Linked DNA regions of Homo sapiens: region 1 is linked to region 2. The links are contacts of gene promoters, found by promoter capture Hi-C in blood cells and fetal thymus (Javierre and others, 2016). All regions are on one chromosome and are shown on one strand. The core of a region is centred on a gene start or on the middle of the fragment in contact, and the rest is flanking DNA. Distances in the headings are between cores, read along the strand shown. Region 1 has its middle 49 kb from the start of TYW3. Region 2 holds the start of SLC44A5 (solute carrier family 44 member 5).

Region 1 (2,959 bases), core at 290-2,789, 830 kb before region 2:
AAACAAGTTTGTTTTTATTGTTTTTTAAAATCTTCATTTCTAATTTCGTGTTCATCATTAAATCTTTTCCTTGCTAGGTCAGCAGAATCTCAAAATTGAGCCTTGCCCAGGTCCAAGTGGTTTTGAACAATGCATATGTAAATGAACCTGAAGCCACAAAACCCCACTCTCTGTGCTTCTCCCTCTGAGTAACAGTAAATGACAGGAAAAATCAGGATGTAAAAAAGCTTATTCTCAGGCAAGAGACCCTGAGCTTTGCCCTCCCAGGCCTACCGCAGGATGTTATTTGTAAAATGCTTTCTTCTCAGCTATACTCACAAAAGTGATTACCAGCAGCAGCACCTTTACAGCCATTGCTGAAAATCATGCTCACCAGGCAAATCTGGTAGAAATGTGGACAAAACTATTGGTAATTAATGCATTTGTTTTTGAAGTTCGTTGGTAGGGGGTCAGAGGGCAGATGGGGGGAGCTTACCTGTAAGGAAAACCCAGAACTTTTTTGTAATCTCCACAGCTCAGCTCTAAAGTAGCAGAGGTACATGTACCTTGCTTTTAGCAATAAAATTGATAAGCATTTCATTATTTTCTAGAGACCACAATTTAAAACCCCTTGCAGTGAATCCTTTTAGAAATCAAATTATCAACTTTTAATGAATTACTTTGTAGGTCCAGATTTCCATCCGGTATCTGTTGTATATCACAAGCAAGATATAACTATAACACAGTTTGGTTGCTCTAGAGGCCTCTCATTTCTCTCCCACCCTTTTACCAGGAAGAATTTAGCCACCAATACCCAATAAACACAACATACAATTGCACAAAACATTAAGTACTCTTATTTGACTTAGTGAACTTAAAAGTGTTTCTTTTTTTACAAAAACTGTGGATATAACTAATAATTCAGTAATTATCATTATTATATTTTATCTTATAGCTGCAAATGTTGTTGCAAATATAATGTTAAAAATGGCAAGTGCTGCATGGCCTGAATATTTCCATCAAATTTCATTGTACACAGTAGAAAGAAGTCATTATTTCTATTATTTTTATACTTGACTTGGTACTATGAGCCACCTGGATTACTTTTTTTAAAAGTGACTTTCAATGGAGACTCTGCTAAGAATATAATTCAATCTTAAGGACAGAGTTAATCCTTTTTTGACAGAGTTGCATAAGTTGTTCAAATCCATACACTGAAACCTAAACTGAAGGACGGTGCAGTTAAAGCTCTTGATTGTAATCAACCTAGTGATGTTGAAAAGCAGTGCTAATATGCAAGGAATTAAAACAGAAAGGCCTATTAAGGATAGTCAAGTTTCACCAGAAATAAAATTAGGTTAGTTGAGAGTAAGAAATTGTCTCAATAAATGTAAAGTAACTAAAGCAGTGCCTAGTAGTTTTTATAAACGAAAATGGAAAAGGCATAGCCCCCACACAATAAGCTATGCTCTGGAAAGAAAAGAATGCCAAATAGAAAGGGGAAAAGACTGTTGATGTCTTTCAAGAACAAATGAAACCATTAACAGAATAACACCTGTGGTTTGGATCAACAAGACTTATTCTAAAATAAGGTGAATATTCTTTGATTTCTTAACTGACTGTTATATCAACTGAGCAACTTTATACACAGCAAGGAAATAAACCACTTTTCCCTCATCATGAAAGTTCTGCAACAAGGGAAATAGTTCTAATTCATCAAAATCTCAGTAGAAGCAGGGCTTATCAGCCCATTTTATAGCCAGAATATTAACAGTATATTATTAACAGAATATTAACAGAATATTAATCCAGGTGTCATTTTTTTTTGGCCCCCACATACCATGCAAGACATCAAGTCCCTGAAAAGTCCCCAGTACATTTTCCGGGAGTCTCCAGAAGATACCATGTATAAACTAAGTAAACTGTTTTGAGATATGTGCTTACTACTGTTTCCACTGGGATGCTAACACATTTACTAACCTTCACTTGTGCTTCCGTTAGATACTGAAGTGTATACCAGACACCACTGTTCCTGTCAGAAACTAACACTGCCTCCTTTCAGGAACCTGAAGTTCCCTCCATGCCCTATCACTGCTCTGCCAGGTGCTGGCTACACCCAACGTACTGAATTCCTCAGTGCGCCAAATAAGCATGGTAAAGGGACATATGTCTCCGACTGTTTGCATTACATTCTATTTGATGCATCTTCAGATCTGCCCTTGCCCTAATGTGTTACAGAACTTTTAATAAAACAGTGCTTTCTTTCTTCACCTCCTCCATTACTTCTCCCCCTCCGCTTCCCTCTCTCCTTGTCCTTTCATTTATCCTTCCCCTTCTCCTCCCGCTTCTTCTTCTCCTCCTTCAATTTATAGCACTCTCTCCATGACGATTATCTGGATGTTGATCTAAGTGTCAAGCACCATACAGTACTCAGACTTGCTCCTGTATCCCAGGTTAGCTCTATTTTATAGTTTCCACATCTTTGCTTAAATTTCTCATGTCTTCATGAATGTTTTCCACCTTTTCCATTACAAACTTCCGTGTCATAAGCTGCCTATGGAAAGGGTGACACGACAAAGAACTGCAGGTGCCCTCTCAGTCCTGAGAGTAGACACTAGCCAAAAGCTAGCAAAAAGCAGATTCCTCGGTAATACAGTTGCAAGAAATATAATCTTTCCAGCAATCTGAAAGAGGTTGGAAGTAAATTCTTCCCCATTCAAGCCTCCAACCCAATACCTTTATTGCTACCTGCTTAGATCCTGAGGCAGAGAACCTAGGCTCAGACACTTGATCCACAGAAACGGTGAGATAACAAATGAGTGTTGTTTTGAGTAACTAAGTTTGAGTAATGTGTTATACAATAGAAAACTAATGAAGCTTTCTAAAACTGCGTTAGTGGTTAAGATGCTGGAATCTGGGAACAACTGCCTGGGTTCACAATTCAGTTCCACTACCCTGAAAAGTTACTTAATCACCTTGT
Region 2 (2,875 bases), core at 44-2,543:
TCATGATCTAATGTTATGTAACCTATTACCCCCAAATTTTAGTGGTTTAAGACAAGAGTAAGCATTTATTATATCTTATGGTTTCTGTGATTCAGGAATCCAGAAGCAGCTTGATTGGATAGCTCTGGGTCGGGGCTATCATGAAATTCAGTCAGATGTTGGCTGAAGCTACAGTCATCTGAAGGCTTGACTTGGTTGCAGGGTCTGTTCCCAAGATAGATCACTCACATAACTAGCAAGTTGTTGCTATTAGCAGGAGGCCTCAGTTCTTCCCACACAGAGCTAAGATTCAAGACTTCTATGCAAGTCAAGAAATACACACACACACACACACACACACACACACACACACACATAGTGAAGTCTGAATATAAATTAGGAACTGAGCTCTTCTTCTCTCTCCATAGGTATATACATATACATACATATACCTATATACACATAGATATCCTGGAGAATTATTTAGAGAGAGCAATATTTCTACATCAGCTCCCTAGGCCAAGTAAGGTGACCCAATGGACTTCACTTTTCTAAAAAGTGCAGTTATACTTATGTATCTTCTCTTACTATTCATCAAAATACCGACAATATTTTGGGCTGAAATGTTAATAATATCTGTATGAACCTCTGCTTCAAAAAATAATCCAAGGGATCCTTGAGTATTTTTAAAACATGGCATCTGGTTTCCCCAAAATGAGCAACATAAGAAAGCAAAGAATACAAAAGAACAAGGCAGAAGCCATAGTGTATGTCTTTATGATGTAGTTTTCTGCTGTACAGTACTGATCACATGGTCAGCTGTGATTCATTTTGGAAGGGGAGTATGAACAGGTGTGAATACCAGTAGGTAAGGATTCCTAGAGATGTTATCAACATCTCAGCCCGAAATATTGTCGATATTTTGGTGAATATTAAGAGAAGATACATAAGTGTAACTGGACTTTTTAGAAAAGTGAAGTCCATTGGGTCACCTTACTTGGCCTAGGGAGCTGATGTAAAAATACTACTCTCTTTAAATAATCCCCCAGGATATCTATATATATACACACACACACACGGAGAGGAAGTGCTCAGTTCCTAATTTATATTCAGACTTCACTATATATATGTGTGTGTGTGTGTGTATTTCTTGAGTTGTATAGAATACGTACTTATGAATAACAAACTTGACCAATTTTCCTACAGACATAGACTTCTTGCATTTAGCAGTATCACTCACCTCTTACTCCATCATTTCTTCAATAACTCCATCAACACTGAACCTTCTAACTCTAACATGCTACGATTCACTACTGTGAAAAAAAAGCTGATGTCATAAACACATTGTGTTCCAGTATCACTAAGGGCCATACCCCATTCTTAGGTAATCCCTGAGGTCCTACTAGCCTTGCTAGCCTCAAAGGAGTCACTTGGAGTATAAAGAGGGGGAGGAGACTGAACAAAGTCCTGGAGCTATAGTATATTTTTTCATTGTTAATCCTTGGCAAAGAAGTAGGTAGTTTGGAGGTGGAAGTAGGCCATGATTACCTTTAAAATAATCTACTATTATTTGTGTCTTTCCTGAATATCATAGCACCTTCTTGTCACAAATGCTTAGGGGAAAGAAAATCATCCAATATACCCCATATCCCACTTACCAACATCTCTACAGTAAAATGAGACCCAAGAGCATGATTTCCTTAACTAGCTATCAAGCAACTACCTCCAACAAACAGCAGTTATCATTAATATGTTCATGCTATTTTCATTTGTGAGGTCTGTAATCCATCAGAACAACCTGACAGTGATTAAGTAAAATCAAAGAGACTTTGTAAACATCTGTGTGCTTTTATTGTTACAAATGCTTCATTATAAAAAGATCAGTCAAAAGCATAAAAGTACCCTGGTTTAAACTTTTTCTGTGTTTGAATGAGAATGTTTCTCTTGGAACATGCTCATATCAGGCTTCCACTTGGCAAAATCACGAATTGGCTGATGTTGTTTTAGAGGCTTTCTCATGTCCCCTTCCAAACATCACTCTTCTCCTTCTGTGGACCCCTTTCTGTTATCTAGGAGCCCCTCATGCTGCCTTCCACATTCTGCCTACTGCACAGTCATGTTCTGGACCCCTCAGAATCCCCCTCTACCATTACAATATGTTTTTCCTAAGACTTACTTGCATTGAAAGGCTTGCCAGGGAAGTGACTAATCTTATCATCTTGTACTAAATGTTAAATTAATCCTCATTCTCTCTAGAATTGTTTTCTAAGCAGGGATTCCTAGAGATGCTATCAATATCTCAGCCTGAAATTGCATAGGTATTCTGGTGAATAGCAAGAGAAAATAACGTGAGTATAACTGGACCTTTTAGAAAAGTGAAGTCTATTAGGTCACCTTAGTTGGCCTAGGGAGTTGATGTAGGAATGCTCCTCTCCCTGAAATAATCTTCCAGGAGAGGAATGTATCCCCAAATAGCAAGTGAATATCCAATGGCTTCTCATTGCACTTAAACTCTATATTCCTTTTTATGACCAAAAAGGCCTGGCTTCTCCCTAACTGTCTCTTCCTTACACATTACACCTCTTCCTTTTGTATGTGAATGTGCCAAGCTACCACCTCATTTCTACCTTAAGGCCTGAAGTGTTATGTTCCAGTTCTTGGCATGCAAATTACTCTTCATCACTTGTTTCCCGACACAAATGCCACCTTTCCAGACAATCTAAAGTAACCTCAAAATCATTTGCTCGCACATCACTTTGTTTTATTTCTCCTGGTATTAATCACTATGTGAAATTTTCTGGTTCATATTATTTGTCACCTGCTTCTTCCAGGCCTCCTCTTACTTCATTGTCTATCATGTTCATTACCGTATCCCTAGTGTTTTGCACAGAATCTG

What was found. Contacts are between HindIII fragments. The CHiCAGO score rates a contact against its expected background, and 5 or more counts as called.
Region 1: a contact is called between a fragment that was not itself captured here and the fragment with the promoter of SLC44A5 in region 2, in 1 of 17 cell types (M2 macrophages). The highest score is 5.3, in M2 macrophages.

What each region holds. Positions count from the first base shown.
Region 1 is chr1:74,780,586-74,783,544 of GRCh38, forward strand. No RefSeq gene overlaps it. Among named protein-coding and RNA genes, the nearest start is that of TYW3, 49 kb to the left of the region's middle. The HindIII fragment of the contact is 2,629 bases long and covers 226-2,854 here.
Region 2 is chr1:75,609,821-75,612,695 of GRCh38, forward strand. SLC44A5 (solute carrier family 44 member 5) reads right to left here and starts at 1,294. Exons shown (of 24, transcript NM_001130058.2): 1 at 1,220-1,294. The HindIII fragment of the contact is 10,824 bases long and covers 1-2,875 here.